Linked DNA regions of Homo sapiens: regions 1, 2 and 4 are each linked to region 3. The links are contacts of gene promoters, found by promoter capture Hi-C in blood cells and fetal thymus (Javierre and others, 2016). All regions are on one chromosome and are shown on one strand. Each heading gives the region's core, a stretch centred on a gene start or on the middle of the fragment in contact. The rest is flanking DNA. Distances are from core to core; before and after follow the strand shown. Region 1 holds the start of KRT6B (keratin 6B). Region 2 has its middle 14 kb from the start of KRT85. Region 3 holds the start of KRT4 (keratin 4). Region 4 holds the start of KRT6A (keratin 6A).

Region 1 (2,700 bases), core at 97-2,596, 360 kb after region 3:
CAACTCCCTCCACCTCTTCCTCACCCATACAAACACACGTTGACACAAACACATATGCACAGACATGTCACCCATGGCCCAGGAAAAGCACAGGAAAATATCCAAGTAAAGATACAAGGATACACAAGGAACTGCTAACATTACTTCCTCCATAGATAGGAATTGGGTAACTGGGGAATGGCCTTGAGCTATATTATTTTGTTGTTTAGCATGTTTTACAAAAAATTTTTTAAAACATGTATCATGTATTCAATTTGTAAACATGTAAATAATTGTGCAAATAGTACTATTCAAAATTTAAATGGGCAATCTACTACATTTACTTCTAGAATGTTTAAATATAGACAGAATCTTAATAAGCTTCTAATTTTAATATGAAATATGAAGGTTAGAGTCTCATATTAAAGGAAACAATAGGGGTATGCAATTAGAAAAATCCCAAGAATGAAAAAGTACAATGAACAGTTAACCTGTTTTATTTAACAAATAAAAGTAAGAAATGAAGGGAGATTTTTAAATTTCAATGATTTAAAGGATATATCACTCAAATACAACGTTTATAGAGCTTATTTTGACTCTGATTGGGACACCAAAATATAAGAAATATATATCAAAAATAGGACTGCTTGAAGACTAAATAGACACTTGTTCATTTTAATTAGTATGTAAATTTTTAAGATATAAAAATAGTGTTTTGATTTTTTAAAGGACCTATTATTTAGATATTAATATTGAATTATTGATTGAAGACATAATATGACTTCTGGAATTTCCTTTCAAACAATCTAGAATGGAAGAGGAAATAGGGTTGAAGTATGAAAGAAATCAGGCTGGCCATGAGATGATCATCATGGAAGCAGGTGACAGGTATATACAGGCCCATTGCAGTGTTCTGCTTCTCTACCTGTTTAAAATTGCACCTAAAAGGTGAAACAATTATGGGGAAATTGTAATATTTCTGTTAAGGAATTCACAATACAGTGCCTGTGATCTCCAACAGCAAGGCTGGAAGAAAGTCAGACTGGGAAGAGGAGGGCACTCAGGGCATGTCGATAAACAGCCTAGCATGCAGAACCTTTGCTGAAGACAGTGACTAATTCCAACTTCATGAATTGAGAATACTCTTATTGTGCTGAGATCTCAAGTCAAAGCTGGAGGCAGGAACATTTTGCCTGACTAAAGGAAGCGAAAAATGCAATCTCGGTATTTCATAACTTTTGTAATAATGCAGGTGTGATCTCACTATTTGTAAAGCCCAGCCCTTCCCAACCTGCAAGCTCACCTTCCAGGACTGGGCCCAGCCCATGCTCTCCATATATAAGCTGCTACTGGAGTCCGATTCCTCGTCCTGCTTCTCCTCCCTCTCGCCTCCAGCCTCTCACACTCTCCTAAGCCCTCTCATCTCCTGGAACCATGGCCAGCACATCCACCACCATCAGGAGCCACAGCAGCAGCCGCCGGGGTTTCAGTGCCAACTCAGCCAGGCTCCCTGGGGTCAGCCGCTCTGGCTTCAGCAGCATCTCCGTGTCCCGCTCCAGGGGCAGTGGTGGCCTGGGTGGCGCATGTGGAGGAGCTGGCTTTGGCAGCCGCAGTCTGTATGGCCTGGGGGGCTCCAAGAGGATCTCCATTGGAGGGGGCAGCTGTGCCATCAGTGGCGGCTATGGCAGCAGAGCCGGAGGCAGCTATGGCTTTGGTGGCGCCGGGAGTGGATTTGGTTTCGGTGGTGGAGCCGGCATTGGCTTTGGTCTGGGTGGTGGAGCCGGCCTTGCTGGTGGCTTTGGGGGCCCTGGCTTCCCTGTGTGCCCCCCTGGAGGCATCCAAGAGGTCACTGTCAACCAGAGTCTCCTGACTCCCCTCAACCTGCAAATTGACCCCGCCATCCAGCGGGTGCGGGCCGAGGAGCGTGAGCAGATCAAGACCCTCAACAACAAGTTTGCCTCCTTCATCGACAAGGTGAGCCAGTGCCATGCCCTCCATCGGGCACTTCAGGGTCCCCAGACCAGAAGAGCAACACCTTCCTGCCGGAGAGACCCTAGGAGGGAGGGAGAAGGGGACTCAGCCCAGCTCTGCAGAGAGTGCAGGTGGCTCTCGGTGCACAGGAGGCAGCACAGATGGGCATCACTCCCCCATGGGATATCTGGAGTGGCCCTCACTCCTGCCTAGGGAGAGCCATAACTTTTCATAACCCTGAAGCACAGATGAGGCCATCAGAGAGTGGAGTAGGTTAATTCTCCCCTCTGAAGTGTTTAAGAGATTACAAAGCAAATGCCAGGAGTATATGGGCTGGTAAATTACACTCTGGGGTCTGGGTAAGAGGAAAAAGATTTAGAAAGAAAAGGAAAAGATAATCTGGCTGGATTAAGAAAAAAAGGGACATAGAAACAACTGTAAAACATGGATAAATGCTAATTAATTTTAAAAACAGAGAATGACCATAACATCAGAATATTTGAGAGGAGACACTAAATGGGAAAGTAGACTGAAATGTAATCATGAGTCAACATCTAATATCCCTCCTAACTAAGATCCTCTCGGTAAAAAAAACTGTGTACAATATATCAGGTAATTAGTATTTTTAAACTAGATTTGTGATTGTGCTTGGAAAAAGAAAAGAAGAAATGTTGAAACTCACTGATGATCAATAGCTTACAGTGCGAGAACACCTCAGTGGTCCGTGGGACAATTTCTCTAGTGAGACTG
Region 2 (2,811 bases), core at 70-2,569, 460 kb after region 3:
TCCCTTCCTCACCCCTTTTGTACCTTTGCCCCCACCTTGCCCTGGTGTGTGTGTGGCCCAGACCATGGCTCTGACCTTTTAGCCGCAGACAAAGGAGAAATGCAAAGGGGCTAGACCGATCCAGTGAGAATCAGAGGGACAGTCACTTCCATGGCCAGAATTATCCGACCCTCCTCTTCCCTCTACCCACATCAACCTGTGGTTCTCAAGCTTTAGTTCTTCTAGGAATCACCTGGAAGCTTCTTAAAATACAGATTCCTGGGCTCATCCCTAGAACTTTTGATTGAGAGTTCCAGATGGAGCCCAGGATCTGCACATTTAGCAACTACCCCACAGGGATTCTGATGCAGGTGGTGGTCGGTGGACCACATTGTGAGATGCACCAAGACAGTCAGGGCTTTGGGTGGGTTGGGAAGACAATGAAGGAGGCAGGCATTAACTTGGTTACTAAGAAAAAGCCTTTCGCCATTGATATTTAATCAAGCACACCAAAAGAAAGAAGGAACCATACAGGAATCATGCAAATACAATGAACTTCCAGGCAACAAACAGTATAAACCCAGCTGATTAGCCTCCGTCAGTCTTTCAATCTGGACATATGAATAGTTGGGGGACTCTGGGAATATACAATCTCTCAGAGCAAGTGAGGAGCCCAGCTCCACACCCACACCACCCTTCCATGCTGAGGCAGCATCTGGAGCCCCTGTCATCCGAGGGCAAAGCGCAGAGATGTTCCCACATACTCCACACCCTCTAGCTGGCTCCGTTCCAAGAGGATCTGGCACACAGTCAGGACTTAATTTAACATCTGCTGGCCTGAAGTTAATTGGGGAAGACAATGACCGAGAAATTCATTCAAAAAAAAGCCTTTCTATTTCATTCCTGAACCACAGGGAAGGGGAGAAGCAATGGAAGTGAAAATAATGTCAAACCCAGGGTTTACACAGAGAAAGTAAATTGTTAACTCCAATAAGAAGGAAACAGGAGAGTTAGTTCTGGGTTCTCTGTAAGGGGAAATTACTAAACTGACATTTGGTCATGCAAGAGAAAAGATTTCCACTCCCCAACCCACACTGCCCCCATCAGAACAGGTCCGTCCAGAGTCCCACCCCCTCTATGCAAACCGCACAGATTGGGCACTGGAGCAGGCCCCCACTGCAGAGGGGCAACACAGTGCACCACTGCTGATGGCCACACCCCCTGAGCCACAGGAGGCAGTGGAGTCCAGGTCCCCGCAGACCACACCACCCTGGGAATGGCTCACACATGTGGACAGAGACACAGGTCAGAATTCTCTTCCATCTCAGACATGTTATGACCCAGAATCCTTTAGAACCAATGATTAATTATCTTCCTTCTCTGAGGGACCAGCAACATGAGTCTTTTTAAACTACAGGCAAACCTGAACCCACTGCCATCTGCTTCTTCAGGAGTGTGGTTAGCAAATTGCACACCAAACTCTACTTGGACCAGGCTGATGTTGAGACATGTTCATACAATCTTTGAGCAAAAACTGATAGATCACACTAGAGGAGTCATCTAGAAATATGGTTGCTAGAGAGGTGAGGGGAATGGAGGGATGGGAATCAGACACCTGGCCCAGGGGCTGTGTGTACATTGGATTATTAGATAGAGATTTACAAGTTGCCTGCAGAGACCCACATGATCAGAATATAAACCTAGCTTTTTTTCTTACTAGAACATGCTACCACTTGAGTAGTATTCTGTGTGTAACTAAAAGGCTTAAGCTATTTTTGCAGAACCAAATAGGGGTTCAGAATTTGCACCATTCATTAACTTAGACTTCATGGGTGTTCCAGATGGATCCATGTATGGTCAAATATTTGAGGTCATCAGTTTGTCTGGATCCCAGAGACATCAGCTCAGGAGTCCCTTGTCTACCACTCCATAGACAGAGGCTTGGTCATCAGTTAGATGCAATCTAATACTAAGATTGCTGAAACCCCAGAAAGCCATGCCCACACACACCCAACTTACAGATATTGACTGAGCCCACGCCTTCACACAGCCTGCAGGGAGAGGAGAGAGTGTACGGTTAGTGCTGAGTTCCTCTGCTTTTGCACCAAACCTATTCTCCTCCATGCTGAAGGAGAAGAAGGGCCCTAAGAGGCAGGGGGAAGCTACCCACCTGCTGCAGACAGCATCAGTGTTGGTCCTGCTTGCTGGGATCCCAAAAGGACAGGAGTATGTTAGCTTACAGGATCCAAAATGCCACTTTATGCCATGTTTGGCTTTCAGCCATGGAAATTTGGTGAACTGGGAAGTAGAGATGAGGGGGGCATCCTCCTGGTCCCTTGGCTGGAAATGCCAGCAAAGCCAAAGTGGTGATGGAAGCTGCTGCTACCTAGCTAGACGTCTCTGAGCAGGAAAAAGCTTGCCTATTACTCAAACAGATTCATTTTTATACCATGATTTTAAATGGTACCCCAGACATCTATCTGATTTCATTCAATGCAGAGGGAGGCTGAAGAGTATGGTGTGGTTAAGAGCCTGGACTCTCAAGCCAGGCTGCCTGGACTTAAATCTGGCTGTGCGGCTTACTAGCTGGGTGATCTTGGGCAGGTCGCTTAACCTTTCTGTGCCTCAATTTCTCCAGCATAAAATGGGGGTGATAATACCTGCCTGAAAGGATTATTGTAAAGTTCGATTGAGTTCTACATGGAAAGTGCCTAAAATGGAGACTGGCACATAGTAAGGAAATCCAATATGTTTGCTACCAACATTATAAACAATTCATTTTTGTAATCCCAGCACCTTGGGAGACTGAGGGAGGTGGATCACTTGAGCCTA
Region 3 (2,700 bases), core at 62-2,561:
CACAAGAACAGTATGGGGGAAACCGCCCCCATAATTCAATCATCTCCCACCGGGGCCCTCCCACAATGTGTGGGAAATATGGGAGTACAATTCAAGATGAGATTTGGGTGGGGACACAGAGCCAAACCATATTGGATGGGTTTAGAGTGCTTAGTTGGCCCACCCAAGGTTATACAGCTAGTTAGTGGCAACAGGAGGGATTTGAACACAGATCTGTTACTGTTCAGTTGGGAAGAATTTAAGTTATGGCTTAAAACTAGGATTTTGCATTTAAAAACATTGCTCTGAGAAGGGATCCATAGGTTTCATCATTCTGCCAAAGGGATCCCCAGCAGCAAAAAAGTTATGAACTCCTGCCCTGAATTCTGCACCATTACAGAAAACCAGAACACACCTAGCAAACAACTGGACAGCAAATGGAGCAGCAGAGTGCACACCACCAGACCCCGCTGGAGAACGCCCATCTAGAATTGTGCAAGCACAGATTGAAGGGAGGCCTGCGGGGCAGCATGGGTACCCAGGGCTGAGAAAGACAGTCACGGTTTTCTTTGGGGAGGTGTTTTGTCTTCCCCCATCTCCTTAGTACCTAGCTCCATGCCTGGCAGTTTCTCAGTAGCTGTTGGCCAAGTTGAAGTGAATCTGGATCTAGGTTGGAAGGCTAAGGCTGGAATACAGAATATTTCCCCTTTTTATAGGTACATGGAGCCAAGAACATGTGGAGGAATAAGAATGCTAAGAATGACAAATATACATGTGGCTTTTGACAGTTTACAGAGCACTCCATTAATCACTAGCTCACTCTATCCTGAGAAGTGGCAAGGCAAATATTTGTATTACTTCCAATTTACAGGGAAAGCAACTGGGCCTCAGAGGGTGACTTGCTCCGGTTTGCAGAGCTAGGAGGTGGCAGGCTGTGCGCTCAAACTCAGGCTGTCTAACTCCACATTCTGTGGGGTGAGAGGATGGGTGATGGGGTGTCTTTTCTGGAGGAGGGAGGTGCTGTGAGCCTAGCGAGATGGAGGTACAGTGGGTGTGGGCCTGGAGCGCTGGGCCCAGGCAGGGGCTTCTGATTAGGAAGCCCTGGGGCACCAGTTCAGGTTCTCCCAGAGAGTAGTGTGATGGGATCCAGTAACCTGTGCCCTCCAGATGACTTCTGTAGGTGTGTTTAGTGACATGCTCAACGGGTGCGGGAAGGATGGGCTTGTGCCAAGGGCCAAGCCCAGAGATGTTTCAGATTTTTCCCTTTATGCCCCTGCAACCAAGCCCTGCTGCTCCAGGACATATAAGAGACGAAGGCTGAGGGCTCCAGCACTCACCGGCCTGGGCCCTGTCACTTCTCTGATAGCTCCCAGCTCGCTCTCTGCAGCCATGATTGCCAGACAGCAGTGTGTCCGAGGCGGGCCCCGGGGCTTCAGCTGTGGCTCGGCCATTGTAGGCGGTGGCAAGAGAGGTGCCTTCAGCTCAGTCTCCATGTCTGGAGGTGCTGGCCGATGCTCTTCTGGGGGATTTGGCAGCAGAAGCCTCTACAACCTCAGGGGGAACAAAAGCATCTCCATGAGTGTGGCTGGGTCACGACAAGGTGCCTGCTTTGGGGGTGCTGGAGGCTTTGGCACTGGTGGCTTTGGTGGTGGATTTGGGGGCTCCTTCAGTGGTAAGGGTGGCCCTGGCTTCCCCGTCTGCCCCGCTGGGGGAATTCAGGAGGTCACCATCAACCAGAGCTTGCTCACCCCCCTCCACGTGGAGATTGACCCTGAGATCCAGAAAGTCCGGACGGAAGAGCGCGAACAGATCAAGCTCCTCAACAACAAGTTTGCCTCCTTCATCGACAAGGTGAGCTGTGTCCTCGGCTGGAGAGGGGCAGTTAGAAGAGAGGGGTCCTGAGTCCTGGGGTCTCAGACCTGAGCCTGCCACAGGTGCTGGGGAGACCACTGAACTTCCCTGGGCCCCAATTCTCCAGCTGTTGAAGGGGCATCATGACTTTGAGCCTTCCTTTTTGTCCCGTGGCTGGTGGGAAGGTGGGATGCTCAAGGCAGTTAAGTGTTTGGAATTCCCTAGACAGGCTGTGGGATACTGGACAAATCATTTGGCTTTTCTGGCTCTAGTCATCCCAGCTATAAAGGGGGTTCATTATTTCTCTGCTTTTTCTCAGATTTTGGTTTTGAATATAATGCAGTTAACCCCATTAATCACTTAACAGTGGCCACTTCTGTTCTTAGAACAGAAGACAACTAAGCTGATTTTGCAAATGAAAAAGGGACTGGCTCCAGTGGCAGATTCTAGGTCTCACCAAGGCCTTGGAAATTTACTTTTTTCATTCCTTTGACTGGACAACACTGCTCATGTCTGGGTCTGTTTGAAGAAAGGAGACAGGTCTCTTTTCTTTTTGTAGCCCAACTTCCTTTTTCATGCAACGTCTAGAAGTTCAAGTTCTTTAAGCTCAGTTATGGTCATGCATGATGGATGATAGTGAGCAGTGCAGCCCCAGAGAGCCGAGTCATCCAAAGATTGATGACTGGGTGGATGAGTGCCTCCCTTTGGTCCAGGTTGCCCTGGTTCACCAGGCATCAAAGTCTTGGGCAGCTTCGACATATGGGGCAAGAATGAACACTTTTGGAATAGAATAAGGTGCATATTTGTTCTTCTTGCTAGTTTGAATAAACCCATAGTAACTTAAAGAGGTTTTACTGTGACTATAGGACA
Region 4 (2,700 bases), core at 32-2,531, 320 kb after region 3:
TTAGCATGGGAGTTTGTTCTTCCTCCTGCGGTTGCTCATTTATCCATAGGTTCTCACAGAACAATATTGCCCAGGATTGCTCTCCATTCTCCTCATGCACAGTGCTTAATGCATGGACTGGAGAAGTGAAGCTCATTCCTCTGTAAACCAAGCACACTCACCTTTGTCAGCCTGCCCACCCTCCCAGAAGGTGTATATGGATTTGAGATTTCAAGCACTGAGATCAGAAATTAAAATGTGGAATTGACATGTTACATCATCACACTTGTAAGGGCACAATTTTATGATTCACAGCTTCCATATGCCCCTTGACTTTCCCTACACACCCAATTAAACTGTCTGACTCTTGATTCTTAAGAAATGTCAAAATCTGTGGGAATAAAAATCCAGTGAATTCCTTAATGATTTTTATATCACTCATTTTCCGTTGTTTAAATTAAGCTCTATGTAAATGCTCCAAAACAGCAGGGAGAAGGTGTCTATAAATTTCAACTGGAAAGGCAGATTTACATGAGACTAAGCTCAATAGGAAAGCAAGCACTGGAGAGAGAGGTGCAGATATGGAAAGAAACTCCTGGCAGAAGTCAGGTCTCTGAGCACCCTGGGCAATGTCTGCTCCCTTCATTTTAGGTAAACGGCATGTGGGCAGGTGATCACACAGTACACAGAACAAATGTTGCTCCTACAGTGTAAAGACTCAACTCCTCTGTCCCTCTTGCCTGACAAAGGAGGGTTAGATCCCCAAAGCAGACCCCGTTCCTATGTCCAGGACACAAGGGAGGACAGCCAGGAGCTCCAGAAGAACTGGTCCAAATGCAGTGGAAAAAACACAACAGGCTACTTCTTGCTCAGGCCATCGGGCAAATGCCCATACGCCCTCAGGAAGGATCCCACTCAGAGGGTGAGGCTGGTGCAAGTGGAGTAGAAAACCTGTGTGGGAAGGGGGCACACAGGGAGTGTCTGATGAAGAAGAAGGAGGGGACAATTATCACAGATCAGCTCCTTGTCTCCTTTGTTTGAGGACATGACTAACTCATGACTTCAGTGAATGTATACCCGGGCTTATTGTGTTAGGATCAAGTCAAGGCTGGAAGGCAGGAGAATTTCTCTATGACTAAAGGAAGCCAAAAAGCAATCTTCATATTTCATACCTTTCTAGAAACTGGGTGTGATCTCACTGTTGGTAAAGCCCAGCCCTTCCCAACCTGCAAGCTCACCTTCCAGGACTGGGCCCAGCCCATGCTCTCCATATATAAGCTGCTGCCCCGAGCCTGATTCCTAGTCCTGCTTCTCTTCCCTCTCTCCTCCAGCCTCTCACACTCTCCTCAGCTCTCTCATCTCCTGGAACCATGGCCAGCACATCCACCACCATCAGGAGCCACAGCAGCAGCCGCCGGGGTTTCAGTGCCAACTCAGCCAGGCTCCCTGGGGTCAGCCGCTCTGGCTTCAGCAGCGTCTCCGTGTCCCGCTCCAGGGGCAGTGGTGGCCTGGGTGGTGCATGTGGAGGAGCTGGCTTTGGCAGCCGCAGTCTGTATGGCCTGGGGGGCTCCAAGAGGATCTCCATTGGAGGGGGCAGCTGTGCCATCAGTGGCGGCTATGGCAGCAGAGCCGGAGGCAGCTATGGCTTTGGTGGCGCCGGGAGTGGATTTGGTTTCGGTGGTGGAGCCGGCATTGGCTTTGGTCTGGGTGGTGGAGCCGGCCTTGCTGGTGGCTTTGGGGGCCCTGGCTTCCCTGTGTGCCCCCCTGGAGGCATCCAAGAGGTCACCGTCAACCAGAGTCTCCTGACTCCCCTCAACCTGCAAATCGATCCCACCATCCAGCGGGTGCGGGCTGAGGAGCGTGAACAGATCAAGACCCTCAACAACAAGTTTGCCTCCTTCATCGACAAGGTGAGCCAGTGCCATGCCCTCCATGGGGCACTTCAGGGTCCCCAGACCAGAGGAGCAACACCTTCCTGCCAGGGAGACCTAGGAGGGAGGGAGAAGAGGACTCAGCCCAGCTCTGCAGAGAGTGCAGATGGCTGCTGGTGCCCAGCAAGCAGCAGGGATGGGCATCACTCCCCCATGGGATCTCTGGAGTGGCCCTCACTCCTGCCTAGGGAGAACCATAACTTTTCATAACCCTGAAGCACAGATGAGGCCATCAGAGAATGGAGTAGGTTAACTCTTCCCTTTGAAGCGTCAAAGAAAATGCCAGGAGTACACGGGCTGGTAAATTACACTCTGGGGTCTGGATAAGAGGAAAAAATATTGGAAACAAAAGAAAGGATATTTTGGCTAGATTAAGAAAAAAAAGACTTAAAACGTTTATACGTTATGTGGAAATGTTAATTAATCCTCAAAACAAAGAATGACCATAACATCAGGATGTTTTAGAGGAGAGACTTGCACAAATGGGAAATAAGACGGGAATCAAATCATTGGGCAACATTTAACATCTCTTCTAACTGAGGTCCTATCAGTAATAAAAACTGTGTAAAATTTATCAGATGAATACTATTTTATAACTATGTTTGTAATTTTGGCTGGGAAAAGAAGGAAAAGACATGTTGAAACTCATTAATATGTCCAATAACTTAGAGAGTGAGAACACCTGAATGGTCCGTGGGACAATTCCTCTAGTGAGATTGGTGGGGTACAAAGGAGAAGGGGTTGGGGGAGCAGAGCTCAGCCTGAGCCTCTCTACATGCACTGTAGTAGC

What was found. Contacts are between HindIII fragments. The CHiCAGO score rates a contact against its expected background, and 5 or more counts as called.
Region 1: a contact is called between the fragment with the promoter of KRT6B here and the fragment with the promoter of KRT4 in region 3, in 13 of 17 cell types (endothelial precursors, total CD8 T cells, total CD4 T cells and 10 more). The highest score is 11.3, in endothelial precursors.
Region 2: a contact is called between a fragment that was not itself captured here and the fragment with the promoter of KRT4 in region 3, in 1 of 17 cell types (endothelial precursors). The highest score is 6.7, in endothelial precursors.
Region 4: a contact is called between the fragment with the promoter of KRT6A here and the fragment with the promoter of KRT4 in region 3, in 7 of 17 cell types (activated CD4 T cells, total CD4 T cells, naive CD8 T cells and 4 more). The highest score is 7.3, in activated CD4 T cells.

Annotation. Positions count from the first base shown.
Region 1 is chr12:52,450,792-52,453,491 of GRCh38, reverse strand. KRT6B (keratin 6B) reads left to right here and starts at 1,346. Exons shown (of 9, transcript NM_005555.4): 1 at 1,346-1,953. The coding sequence starts at 1,414. The HindIII fragment of the contact is 8,192 bases long and covers 363-2,700 here.
Region 2 is chr12:52,352,340-52,355,150 of GRCh38, reverse strand. It overlaps the pseudogene KRT89P. Among named protein-coding and RNA genes, the nearest start is that of KRT85, 14 kb to the left of the region's middle. The HindIII fragment of the contact is 2,155 bases long and covers 242-2,396 here.
Region 3 is chr12:52,812,727-52,815,426 of GRCh38, reverse strand. KRT4 (keratin 4) reads left to right here and starts at 1,311. Exons shown (of 9, transcript NM_002272.4): 1 at 1,311-1,830. The coding sequence starts at 1,369. RefSeq lists an enhancer at 1,739-2,240 and a silencer at 2,406-2,606. The HindIII fragment of the contact is 5,472 bases long and covers 1-2,700 here.
Region 4 is chr12:52,491,838-52,494,537 of GRCh38, reverse strand. KRT6A (keratin 6A) reads left to right here and starts at 1,281. Exons shown (of 9, transcript NM_005554.4): 1 at 1,281-1,889. The coding sequence starts at 1,350. The HindIII fragment of the contact is 6,361 bases long and covers 1-2,700 here.